Regions from separate parts of the Homo sapiens genome. Here regions 1 and 3 are each linked to region 2. The links are contacts of gene promoters, found by promoter capture Hi-C in blood cells and fetal thymus (Javierre and others, 2016). All regions are on one chromosome and are shown on one strand. The core of a region is centred on a gene start or on the middle of the fragment in contact, and the rest is flanking DNA. Distances in the headings are between cores, read along the strand shown. Region 1 holds the start of SRRT (serrate, RNA effector molecule). Region 2 holds the start of MCM7 (minichromosome maintenance complex component 7). Region 3 overlaps ZNF655 (zinc finger protein 655).

Region 1 (4,410 bases), core at 1,846-4,345, 770 kb after region 2:
TCTTCGTTTTTTTTTTTTTTTTTTTGAGATGGAGTCTCACTCTGTCACCCAGGCTGGAGTGCAGTGGCACGATCTCAGCTCACTGCAACCTCCACCACCTGGGTTCAAGTGATTTGCCTGCCTCAACCTCCCCAGTAGCTGGGATTACGGGCGCATGCCACCACGCCTGGCTAGTTTTTTTTTTTTTTTTTTTTTTTGTATTTTTAGTAGAGACAGGCTTTCATCATGTTGGCCAGGCTGGTCTCAAACTCCTGAGCTCAAGCGATCCACCTGCCTCGGCCGCCCAAAGTGCAGGGATAGCAGGCGTAAGCCACTGCACCCAGTCTTCTTCTTTGTATTTTAATAAAGACAGCGTCTTGCTGTGTTGCCTAGGCTGGTCTTGAACGCCTGGCCTCAAGTGATCCTCCTGCCTTGGCCTCCCAAAGTCGGGGGATTGCAGGCTAGAGCCACTGCACCTAGCCTCTCTCATTCTCTTTGACATCGTCCCTTCCCCAAGACCTAAGGCCATACCTCTGGCCTCTCTGATTCCCTCCTGTGCCCCACCTTCTCTGGGTTCCATTGTTGGTGCCCTGCAACCCCAAGGCTTGATGGCCTTCTTGGTTCTCTTCCCCTGCAGGAAGTTTGCCCCAAGATGCTCAGTGTGCGGTGGGGCCATAATGCCTGAGCCAGGTCAGGAGGAGACTGTGAGAATTGTTGCTCTGGATCGAAGTTTTCACATTGGCTGTTACAAGTGCGAGGTCAGGGGCCCCCAGCACGTGCAAGGGGCTGGCAGTGTCTAGGGTGCTGGGTAGAGCATGAGGGGGAACACAGAGGTCTGGGGTTGATGGAAACCTGTTGCTTCTTTCTTTTTTTTTTTTTTTTGAGACGGAGTCTTGCTCTGTTGCCCAGGCTGGAGTGCAGTGGCACAATCTTGGCTCACTGCAACCTCCACCTCCCGGGTTCAAGTGATTCTCCTGCCTCAGCCTCCTGAGTAGCTGGGATTACAGGTGCTGGCCACCATGCCTGGCTAATTTTTGTATTTTTAGTAGAGACAGGGTTTCACCATATTGGCCAGGCTGGTCTTGAACTCCTGACCTTGTGATCCTCCTGCCTCGGCTTCTCAAAGTGCTGGGATTACAGGCGTGAGCCATCGCGCCCGGCCAATTGTTGCTTCTTTTTCAACAGGAGTGTGGGCTGCTGCTCTCCTCTGAGGGCGAGTGTCAGGGCTGCTACCCGCTGGATGGGCACATCTTGTGCAAGGCCTGCAGCGCCTGGCGCATCCAGGAGCTCTCAGCCACCGTCACCACTGACTGCTGAGTCTTCCTAGAAGTACCTGCTGGGTTCTCAGTTCCAGTTCCCATCCTTTGATTGATCACTCTCCCTGACATCCACCTGTATGACTTTGTCACCAAATGCTGTCTTCTCTTTCTCCAATCAAGAAATAATAATCCCTCGAGTTTACAAAACACTTCCAAGTCTGTTGTCTCATCTGATTCTCCCAGTAGCCCATTACAGGCCCAGTCATTGTTACTGCCTGCATTTTTTTTCTTTTTTTTTTGAGACGGAGTCTGGCTCTGTCACCCAGGCTGGAATGCAGTGGTGCCATCTCGGCTCACTGCAACCTCTGCCTCCCAGGTTCAAGTGATTCTCTTGCCTCAGCCTCTTGAGTAGCTGGGATTACAGGCGCCCGCCACCACGTCTGGCTAATTTTGTATTTTTAGTAGAGACGGGGTTTCACCACCTTGGTCAGGGTGGTCTTGAACTCCTGACCTCAAGTGATCTGCCCGCTTCACCCAACCAAAGTGCTGGGATTACAGGCGTGAGCCACCGCCCTTGGCCACTGTCTGCATTTTTACATGTGAGGATGTCAGAGCTGAGAGGTGACTCCCCCAGATTGCATGGTTCTTAAATGGTGGAACCTGGGTCTTTTTGACTCAGGTCCAGTTTTTTTTGACAACTCTTGTAATCCGTCACTACCCTCCTCTCAGTGCTGGGAGCAAGCACGCCTCAGGGAGGAGGCAAGATTTCCTCTATGTATCTATTTTGAGACAGGGCCTCACTCTGTTCCCCAGGCTAGAGTGCAGTGGTGCAATCAAGGCTCACTGCAGCCCTGAACTCCTGGGCTCAAACAGTCCTCCTGGCTTAGCCTCCCCAGTAGCTAGGACCACAGGGGCATCCCACCAAGCCCAGTTATTATTTTTTTGTGTGTAGATGGGATCTTGCTATGTTGCCCAGGCTAGTCCTGAACTCTTGGGCTTAAGTCCTCCCTCCTCGACCTTCCCAAGTGCTGGGATCACAGGTGTGAGCCAATGTGCCTGGCCCTAAATATTCTGTAAAGGGGCCTTGCTATGTTGCCCAGGCAGGTCTCCAACTCCTGGGCTCAAGTGATTCTCCCACGTCGGCCTCCCAAAGCGCTGGGATTGCAGGCGTGAGCCATCTCAGCTGGTCTTCCTATTAAGTCTCACACTCAATTCACTGAGAGGGGCCTTGGTGTTACTCCCGGGGGTGGTAATCCATTGAATCTGGGCGGTCCATACTCTGTTTAGGGCGTTAACTTACAGCCTATTTCATCCAAATACTGAGCGGGGTTAAGACTGAGATCTGCCAATTTTACTTAAAGACGGGGCGTCTTTGTCGAGGAAAAGCAGGAACGGCGGACTTTGCATTTAGTGCGCACTGTGGCACCCAATTTTGGCTGGATATTTGGAGCAGAAAATGGTGGGATACGATGCTTTAAAATGGTTGCTTCCACCTTCCATCCCCTAAGCGCCCGCGCTTCCCAAGCCCACGCCCTGCCCGAGGAGGGGACGAAATCACCCCCGGTGAGGTCAGGAGGCCCGTGGGGGGAACATGGCTGGATGAGAACCGTCTTAGGACCCCGACACATCTGGGGTCGCGCGATCCTCGACTTCCGCTCTCCCTTCGCGCCCAGAGGGCTTGTTCGCCTCCCGAGGCCGCGCTTGGCCCAGCCGAGGTCCCGTAGTTCCTAACGCTCGAGCCGTTATCGTCTCGAAAAGCCGCGCGAGACTTGCGAGATCCCCGCCCCTTTCCCATCACGCCCTGCTCTCCCCGCCCTTCGCGCTCGGTTTGTTAGTTCCAGTTCCGGCCGCGAGGGTGGAGCTTTGTGCCTCGGAGGCGTGGGTGACGCAGGCGCAGCGCGGGCTGCGCGCGCTACTGCCCATCCCCGGTTGTCCCACTTTTGTTCGCCTCTCTTCGGCCCTCTACTCAAGAGCTCCGTCTCCGTCTCGCCCTCCTCGAAGTCCTCGTCGCGCGCCCGCGACCCAGGTCGCCCTGAAATCTAGCCCGTCCGAGCGCGAGTCCAACGGCCGCGGCCGCACCAAGGTGGGGGAGGGGAGGAGCCTGGGGGGCCCCGCTGGGGCGGGAGAGGAACCGGGGTCCACGGGGGCGGGCGCGGAGAAACTCGGGGCGAGTGGAGGTGTTGGAGCCGCGTTCTCAGGCCTAGGATGGTGGGGGCCGCGGAGGGCTGGCCTTGGCGGGAGGGAAGCGGGCGAGCTGCCCGCGAGGGACGGTCCCTTCCTCCGCTCGTCCTTTTGCACCACTCCTACCGCCTCTCCCCGGTCCCCAGGCCCCCTCAGACCGTGCCATGGGTGACAGTGATGACGAGTACGATCGAAGGCGCAGGGACAAGTTCAGAAGAGAGCGCAGCGACTACGACCGTTCCCGCGAGAGAGATGAAAGACGTCGAGGGGACGATTGGAATGACAGGTGAGCCGTTTTTAACTTCATCTTGTCCCCGTTTCATGCCGTTTCACTCCACCCGCGTCGCTTTTCTTTCTCCCCCTTGTAATTTTTATGAGGGCGAATCCTATGAAATGGCTCATTGGACCGTTTTCTGTGGTTCAGCCTATTTGCTGTTGGCCAAATAACTAGCTGTGGCTTGGTTTTTGAAATTCTCTGCAGATCAGAGCTATAGAGCTAAGAGTTTGAGTATGAAGAAGCACTGTTTATACATGCACGAAAAGCGTGCTTTTTTGCTTTTTTTTGTTTTGTTATTGAGATGGGGTCTTGTTCTGCTGCCCTGGCTGGAGTGCATTGATGCAGTCGTAGCAGCCTCCACCTCCCGGGCTCAACCGAGCCTCCCGCCTCAGCCTCTTGAGAAGCTGGGACTCCAGGGGGAGGCCATCACGCCCGCCTAACTTTTAAAAATTATTATTGTTATTTCGAGACAGAGTCTTGCCCTGTCGCCCAGGCTGGAGTGCAATGGCGCAATCTTGGCTCACTGCAACCTTCGCCTCTGGGGTTCAAGTAATTCTCCTGCCTCAGCCTCCCGAGTAGCTGGGATTACAGGCACCTGCCACCACGCCCGTCTAATTTTTGTATTTTTAGTAGAGACGGGGTTTCACCATGTTGGCTAGGCTGGTTTGGAACTCTCGACTTTAGGTAATCCACCCAGCTCGACCTCCCAAAGTG
Region 2 (3,888 bases), core at 497-2,996:
GCCTGGCATTCTCACAAATTGAGTCCACCAACTCGGGGTCATCCTCGGCTACGTCGTCCAGGTCCACATACAGAGCCACCTGTTCCCGATGAGCCAGCCGAACCTCAAGTGGGGAAGAGACAGAAACACCTCAGAGCCACATTCACTTTGCTCACCAGTGTTCATATGTGAAAATGCATCACTGAGAACTCAGCACAGGCTCTGGGCATCCACAGGGGAGAACGCAGCGCCACACAGAGCGATACTCGCTTTTCAGCCCTCAAACCCTCTAATTGTTATGTCTTTAATAAAACAAGCCAAGCTGCTGCTTATGGCTCCTTAAGCACCCCGCTCCCCATTCCCTTTACCCAATCTTAGACTTACCAACTGGTTCCCATACTTGAACTGCTTCTTCCCGAGTTCATCATCCTGGTAGAACTCTTGTAAGAACTTCTTAACCTTTTCTGTAACATGAAATGTAAAACCGTAAGACACAAACTTTAAGACAAATCTTAGATACCCATTTTCGCTTAAAACACGACCTATGAACTAATTAATAATATGAGCATTTAAATAAACCTACCGAAGTCTCCCCAAAGTGGGCATAACTCTTTTTCACAAGTCTGTTTCTAACCAGCGAAGAATAAAGAGCCCGTGGCAGTGCACAGGGCCATCCAACATCTCCCCAGGGGAATTCCGGTCCCTACTTTAGTTTAAAATTCTAGCGCCCTTCCCCGTTGGCCCCTCACACTCCGGTCTCAAGGTTCTCAGCTTTCTTTCCACCCCTATGATCCCCCGCCTTCTTTGGGTCCCCTTAGCCCCTGATTTCACCGGGACCTCCGCCACCGCACCCCGCCACCGCACCCCACCCCCGCTCCCGCCATCGCTTCCGCTCTTAGTAAACAAAGAAGCACATGGGCCCGGATTCCAGCCGCTTCACAGCTCGGGATTCCTCCGCCCAGGGCGGGAGCCAGTCCAGCCATTGGCCATCACACCCAGAGACACCGCGATCCCAGCCCACTGCCGCCTTTCCCGGGCCCGAGCGAAGCTCCGGATCCCAGGCACGCCCCCCCGGGCCGCAGCTCTCTCCGCGGCCGCCGCGCGGAAGGACACTGTTTACACGACACTCCCTCCAGCCTCCTCGCGCCACTTCCGCCCGGCTCCACTTCCGCTCGGAGGGCGGCCTCAAACGGCCAATCCCGGCGCGCAGCGGCCCCGGCCTGCCCGCCCCCGGGGCCTACGCGCGCCTGGGGAGGGCGCGGGAACCTGGGAATGCCCAAAAGCGCGAAGGAAAGCGGGCACGGGAGCCCAGAGCCCTTAAGACTCTCCTGAGGTCCTGGGCGCGACTTTTCCCTGTGCAGCCCCCAGCCGGGTTAGCGCGCCCCCAAGCCCCCAACCCCACGACCCTAACACCTTTACCAGGTGGGATTACTAGCTTTTCTTCAACATCGATGGCCCCCCGCACGCTTCCCAGGCCCCGTGGGCCTTAGCCAGGCCGCAGCTCGACCCTGCCTCTGGCCTCGCGCACCCCAGAACCCGCCGACCCCGGTCCCCCAAGACCCCAGCTCACACCAACAGGTGTTCCCCGGGAGGCTCCCCGCGCAGGACGCCCTCCCGGGCTCGTAGACCCGTACCCTTCTCTAGCGCGTAGTCCTTCAGTGCCATCGCTGCCGAGGGCCGTGCGGCCGCGCTTGGCGGGCTCAGAGGTCTTGCTCCTGGGGAAGCTGAGAATCTCCGCGCGGTGGACTGTGGCCGGCCAACCGAAATTGGCGCGAAACGTCGCCCCCCACGTGACCGGCGCCACTGCGTGCGGGCCAATCGGACAAGGCGGCCTTCTTCACCTCCCGCTAGCCGCAAGCCAATCACCGTGCGGGCCTAGAATGAGTGACGGGGAGGCGGTGCGGGCGTCGGAAGGGAATCTCCGGGCGGGGTAGTGCAGGCGCCGGGTTTCCCGCGGTCCGAGCTGGCGCGGGCGGAGGAGAATCGCTCTTAAAGGGCCAGCGCACACGCGTTCTTTTGTTCCGGGGCCGCAGGGCGGGGCAGGCCCGACTTTCGCCGTCTTCTTGTCTACTCTCCAGAACGGCCATGATTTCCCAATTCTTCATTCTGTCCTCCAAGGGGGACCCGCTCATCTACAAAGACTGTATCCTAGACCCTTGGGGCTGGGAAGGGGCGGAGGGGCCGGGCGGGAGGGGCGCCCAGGGCCAGCCTGTGTCGCAGGATCCTTCACTGAGTCCTTCCACCCGCCAGTCCGCGGGGACAGTGGCGGCCGGGATGTGGCCGAGCTCTTCTACCGGAAGCTGACGGGACTGCCAGGAGACGAGTCCCCGGTTGTCATGGTAACCAGTGGCGGGAGGCGGGTGAGGAGCGGGGTCCCGTCGGGCCGGGTGGGCGCCAGCTCCCTCCCAGGACTGGTTCATTGGTAGATTCCACTTGGGGGGTGCATTCCGCCAAATAAAGCTAACGTGAGGCCCGGCGCGGTGGCTCACGCCTGTAATCCCAGCACTTTGGGAGACCGAGGCGGGCGGATCACCTGAGGTCAGGAGTTCGAAATCAGCCTGGCCAACATGGTGAAACTCCGCCTCTACTAAAAATACAAAAAAAAAAAAAACATAGCTGGGCGTGGTGGCGGGCGCCTGTAATCCCATCTACTCGGGAAGCTGAGGCTTGAGAATCGCTTGAATCCAAGAGGCAGAGGTTGCAGTGAGCCGAGATCCGGACACCGCACTCCAGCCTGGGAGACAGAGCGAGACTCCCTCTCGGGGTAGGTGGGGGTGGGGAAAAAAAAAAAAAGAGTCAATGGGCGCCAGCAACACACCAGGCCCAGCTCCCTGCGTGACTCCATCCTCAGCAACTCGGGGTAGTTAGTGTAATTAACCCCCTTTCCACATTGGGAAGCTGGGCCCAGGCATATGTCATGTATCTCCCAAAGGCACTGCTGTTGTGACTAGTAAGAGGCATCGGGATCCGAGCTCAGGTCTCCTGGGTTCTGATCACTCCACCTCCCTTTTTTTAACGCCTCTCTTCTCCCTGCCTGTGTCTCAGCATCACCATGGCCGTCATTTCATTCACATCAGACACAGCGGCCTCTATTTGGTGGTCACAACTTCAGAAAACGTTTCTCCCTTCAGCCTCCTAGAACTGCTCTCCAGGTGAGGAGGGTTGGGCTGGGCACCTGGTAGCTAGGAGGGGTCTGAGAGGAGGAGAAAATACACGCTCCAAGTGTTTCCTCAGGTTGGCCACCCTTCTGGGCGATTACTGTGGCTCCCTGGGCGAGGGGACCATCTCCCGCAATGTGGCTCTGGTATACGAACTCCTGGATGAAGTGCTGGTGAGAATCAACAATCCCCTTCTGTGGCCCCTACCCAATTCCCCTGAAGATACATCTGCTCTTCTACTGTGGGATGCCGTGGTTAGGAGGCCAAGTCTACCTTTTTTTTTTTTTTTTTTTTTGCTTTTAGAGACAGGGTCTTGCTCTGTTGCCCAGGCTGGACTGCAGTGGTGCAGTTATAGCTCACTGCAGCCTGGAACTCCTGGGCTCAAGCCGTCCTCCTGCCCCAGCCTCCCCTGTGCCTAGCTAATTGTTTATTTTTTGTAGAGACTAGAGTCTCACTGTGTTGCCCAGGCTGGTCTTGAACTCATGGCCTCAAGCCATTCTCCTACGTCTCGGCCTTCCAAAGCGCTGAGAGTACAGGAGTGAGTCACCATGCCTGGCCCCACTCCCCCTCTTTACCCCTTCCCTCCACTGATCACTCAGACTGTCCTTCCTTTACCACTAGGACTATGGCTATGTACAGACCACATCCACGGAGATGCTGAGGAATTTCATCCAGACGGAAGCTGTGGTCAGCAAGCCCTTCAGCCTCTTTGACCTCAGCAGCGTTGGCTTGGTCAGTAGAGGGAAAGAGG
Region 3 (4,194 bases), core at 383-2,882, 540 kb before region 2:
GGGCCTGAAGGACGCCGCTCAAACCTGTTCGAACCGCAGCTCTTACCTGCGTTGCTCTCAGGATTCCGGGAAAAGGCCGGTCTAGCTGGTCTGAGTTAGCGAAGGGCCTGACCCCAAAAGTGGAGTTTTATTCGCCAAGCCCGTGTAGTAAATCGGAGTGGGCTGACGGTGTTACCAAGACATTTCCTAGGGGGCCTGCTGTTTTATTTATTTAAATGAGTTTATTTACGTAAACGCGGGCCTGTCACGGTGGTTCACGCCGTAATCCCCGCACTTTGGGAGGCCGAAGTGGGAGGATCGCTTGAGGCCAGGCGTTCGAGTCCAGCCTGGGCAACATAGCGAGACTCCCATCTCTGCTAAAACAAAATTAAAATAAAATGAGCAATCATAACTAGCATTTTTCTCTGGGCACCAACTTGAGCCTCCAAAGACGATTGTAAATTTTAAATATTTTGTTTTGTTTATTTGAGGTGGGCTGTCACGCTGTCATACAGGCTGGAATGCAGTGGCGCAGTCATAGCTCACTGCAGCCTCTACCTCCCAAGCTCAAGCGATTCTCCTGCCTTGGCCTTTGGAGTAGCTGGAACTACAGGCCTGGGCCACCTAATTTTTTTTTTTTTTTTTTTTTTTGTAGGGACGGGGTTTCACCATGTTGTCCAGGACGGTCTGGAACTCCTGAGCTTAAGGGATCCACCCGTCTGTGCCTCCCAAACTGTTGGGATTACAGGCTTGAGCCACCGCACGTGGCCAATTTTAAATATTTTAAAGTTTCCACAGAAAGCTTTACACTATTAAATTGTACCGTGTTAATTTTTTTAATGCCACAAATTCCAAATTAGAGACTCTTCTATGATTTGGTTCTTAAGTATTTAAAGCTGAAGCATATCCATATTTCTTTTTCTTTTTTTTCTTTTTTTTTTTTTTGGGACGGAGTCTCACTGTGTTGCCCAGGTTGGAGTGCAGTGGTGCAATCTTGGCTCACTGCCACGTATGCCTTCTGTATTCAAGCAATTCTCCTGCCTCAGCCTCCCGAATAGCTGGGATTACAGACCCGCACCACCACGCTGGCTAATTTTTGTATTTTTAGTAGAGAAGAAGTTGCACCATGTTGATCAGGCTGGTCTTGAACTCCTGACCTCAAGTGATCTTCCCGCCTCAGCCTCCCAAAGTGCTGGGATTACAGGCCACTGCGCCTGGCCCCATTTTTCTGTTACTTATTTAGGGTGGTTAATCATTATCAACTAATTTTTATTGAATATCCATAGTGTGTAAGATCCTTTGCAAAGTCCTGACGATATAAAATGATGAAATGCTTTAACTTATTACAGTAATTTCTCTTAATCTTACCTTGCAGTGATGGTCATTGTCCTCCAGAGCAGTGATGGAGGAAATACCAGCCCAGGAAGCAGCAGGGTCACCAAGGGTCCAGTTTCAGTCTTTGGAGACCCAGTCTGAGTGTCTGTCCCCAGAGCCTCAGTTTGTGCAGGACACCGACATGGAACAGGGACTCACTGGGGGTAAGGCAGAGAAAGCACTTCCGTCTGGGAGAGTGGGAGTGCGGAGGGGCTCCCGAGGGGGCTCCTGGGCCTGGTTTGAGAGAGGCCAAGAACTGGAATAAGAACATGGTCCCTAGAGGGAGGAATGAAAGAGGGGGCAGATGTGACTCAGTTCAGTCCTAGTCTGAGCCCCTTTATTAAGGATAGCTCATCTTTCTCAAATAAGCAGAGTGATGGCTGCTTACTCGCTGTGGTGGTTTTTCCTTCAGGCAACCTTCACTTCATCCCAGTTCTCACATCCAGAATAATTTCTAAGATATGCTGCTTTTGCCACATCTCACAGTCCTTTCCTGGCTCTCACTTCCTCTTAGGTTCAGGACCTTTCTTTCCCCTGTTCCCTTCACTTAGTTTTTCTTTGCTTTGTCACCTGCCATCCATTCTGTTGTAACTGCAGTGTTTTGTGACTAGACTAAATTTGGTCAAGGAAGCAACCATTTAATTCCTTGGTTGAACACAATGCCTGTATGAATGTATATATACTGTATTTTGACTACGCAGTCACACTTTGCTGTATCGTATAGGTAGGTTGGTCTTTTTCTTCCTTTGTTTTATAAGAGCTGTGTCTTAGATTGCCTGTGGTTAACTCTAGTGCCTGAAATAACTTGTGTGTCACCCACACAGATCAAGTGCCACAATGTGTAGAGTGCTGTGGGGGATTGTGGGACTGTGGAAAAGATTTCGAGGAAACAGATGACCCTTTCTTGTTCTTGGGGGCCTTACACACTGGTTGAGACAGCACCCATTCACAAGAGAAACGCTGATCAAGTGTCTAGAACAGTGCCTGGAAAGGGTCAGAAGTCTGCTAAATAACCCTAGCCCAGGACAAGTCCCCACAAGTCTTTATGCTTTGCTTTGCCCATCTGCAAAACAGGTATAGTCTTACTCTTCTGTAAGAGGACTGTCATGTGATGAAGATAAAGTGAAATACAAGCTTTCCTAAGAAAATCCTGTATCACAGGTCAAAACACGCATAAGGCATGCAAGTACTGAGACGAAGCAGAGTAGACACACCCAATACCTGAAAAATGTTCATTGGTTTTACTAGAGTATTGAGGAGGGTCCTGCTGACACCCCTTGGGCTGGAGAGGCCTCCTCTGAAAGGGAGCCCTGGGAAAGGGCTGCTCTCACTCTTCACTCCTTTCTCCTCCCTCAGCTCCACCTGTTCCTCAGGTGCCTGCTCTTCCCCGTGAGGGAAGCCCAGGAGACCAGGCAGCTGCGCTCTTGACAGCCAGGTACCAGGTGAGCTGAGGAACCCTCTGCTTTTCCTCAGGGACTATTGCTACTGATGGAGTGTGGCCTCTCTCTCATCCCATCTGTAGACCTTGCCTGGAATTTTTTTCAATAGCAGACTCCAGTTTGGGAATTGATCCTCTTCGGAGACCTGGACTTCACATAAACCAACTTCCCATCTCCCCAGTGCCATGAGCAAACTCTGTTTTCTCTTTGTCCATGGTTGTGTGATGGGTGCTTATTAGATGTTTAAGGGTTATGGGCTTTATTCCGTAGGTTCTAATCTGTTCTCCCTCCTCCTCAACGTAAGTACACAGTGGATACCCTCTCTATGATCTTCATTCTCTGGCCATGGTGCTACAGTGTTCTCATTCCTCAGAGCAGCCAGGATGTGTTATTTCAGGAGTTTGTGACATTCGAGGATGTGGCTGTGCACCTTACTCGAGAGGAATGGGGATACCTGGACCCTGTTCAGAGGGACCTCTACAGAGAAGTGATGTTAGAGAATTATGGGAACGTGGTCTCACTGGGTAAGGACTTCCTTATTATTCGGTTTATCTATTTGAATTTCTTTACTTTCTTGTTTCTTCCTAAGTATAAGGTCTCTGAGAAGGTCTGTAGAGTGTGGCTTAGATTCCAGGACTTAGAACCTCTGAATCCTTATCTTTCACATCGTCTTCTCCGGGAGGGGTAATTAACGTTTGTTTGGGGGTGCCAAGAAGAGACATTCTCCTCCTTATCCCCAGTTCATGTTTATGGCCATTGTGGGGCATCTTTTCCCTTTTAGCAAAGGGAAACTTTCTTGTGCTTTGCTTGATTTCTCACCGTTCTTTTCTTTTCCATTTTTGTAGGAGAGACCCCAGGGTGGCCTCCCAACCTCCAACCAGACACTTTCCTCTTTGTTATCTCAGTGTCCCTGTATTAGAGAATTGAAGAATTTCCCATTTTTCTAGGAAAAAGAAATGCCGTTTATTTAAAAAGACAGGCTAAATTCCTTCTTGTTGAGTAGTCCCTCACCCCTTAAGATCCCCAGATGTATCTCCAAGCAGGCAGAACTTGAGATGTCATTTGAAGGCATGACTCACTGTGAGTACATTTCAGTGAGTCACCCAGAATGGTAATCCCACGTAACCACACCCAGGGCAGCAGAAATCTCAGATGTTTACCCCATGCTGAGGTGGGGTCAATGCTTAACTCATGTCTCTCCCTTGTCATTTTGAAAGGTACAGTGGGAAGCTGGGATTAGCCAAGCTGTAGTGCTGCTGGGAAGCATCAGTGGGGTTTGTCGGCAGCTCCCTTGGTGTGAGCATTGTTCCTTTTTCTTTAGTTTATTTTTTATATTATATTATATTTTTTATTTTATTTTATTTTTAGATGGAGTTTCACTCTTGTTGCCCAGGCTGGAGTG

The links. Contacts are between HindIII fragments. The CHiCAGO score rates a contact against its expected background, and 5 or more counts as called.
Region 1: the fragment with the promoter of SRRT here is called in contact with the fragment with the promoter of MCM7 in region 2 in 1 of 17 cell types (neutrophils); the score reaches 6.0 in neutrophils.
Region 3: a contact is called between a fragment that was not itself captured here and the fragment with the promoter of MCM7 in region 2, in 1 of 17 cell types (fetal thymus). The highest score is 5.2, in fetal thymus.

What each region holds. Positions count from the first base shown.
Region 1 is chr7:100,872,008-100,876,417 of GRCh38, forward strand. SRRT (serrate, RNA effector molecule) reads left to right here and starts at 3,096. Exons shown (of 20, transcript NM_015908.6): 1 at 3,096-3,321; 2 at 3,566-3,705. The coding sequence starts at 3,584. It overlaps TRIP6 (thyroid hormone receptor interactor 6), which reads left to right. Exons shown (of 9, transcript NM_003302.3): 8 at 617-737; 9 at 1,165-1,447. The coding sequence ends at 1,296. RefSeq lists enhancers at 1,981-2,645, 2,646-3,311, 2,888-2,937, 3,148-3,207 and a silencer at 3,348-3,577. The HindIII fragment of the contact is 10,507 bases long and covers 1-4,410 here.
Region 2 is chr7:100,099,651-100,103,538 of GRCh38, forward strand. MCM7 (minichromosome maintenance complex component 7) reads right to left here and starts at 1,747. Exons shown (of 15, transcript NM_005916.5): 1 at 1,614-1,747; 2 at 364-443; 3 at 1-103. The coding sequence starts at 1,644. AP4M1 (adaptor related protein complex 4 subunit mu 1) reads left to right here and starts at 1,993. Exons shown (of 15, transcript NM_004722.4): 1 at 1,993-2,122; 2 at 2,230-2,318; 3 at 3,025-3,131; 4 at 3,214-3,310; 5 at 3,759-3,869. The coding sequence starts at 2,065. RefSeq lists enhancers at 942-1,101, 1,447-1,999, 2,022-2,071 and a silencer at 1,212-1,311. The HindIII fragment of the contact is 6,263 bases long and covers 1-3,888 here.
Region 3 is chr7:99,559,179-99,563,372 of GRCh38, forward strand. It overlaps ZNF655 (zinc finger protein 655), which reads left to right. Exons shown (of 3, transcript NM_138494.3): 2 at 1,355-1,517. The coding sequence starts at 1,382. Among named protein-coding and RNA genes, the nearest start is that of ZNF655, 2.6 kb to the left of the region's middle. The HindIII fragment of the contact is 1,706 bases long and covers 780-2,485 here.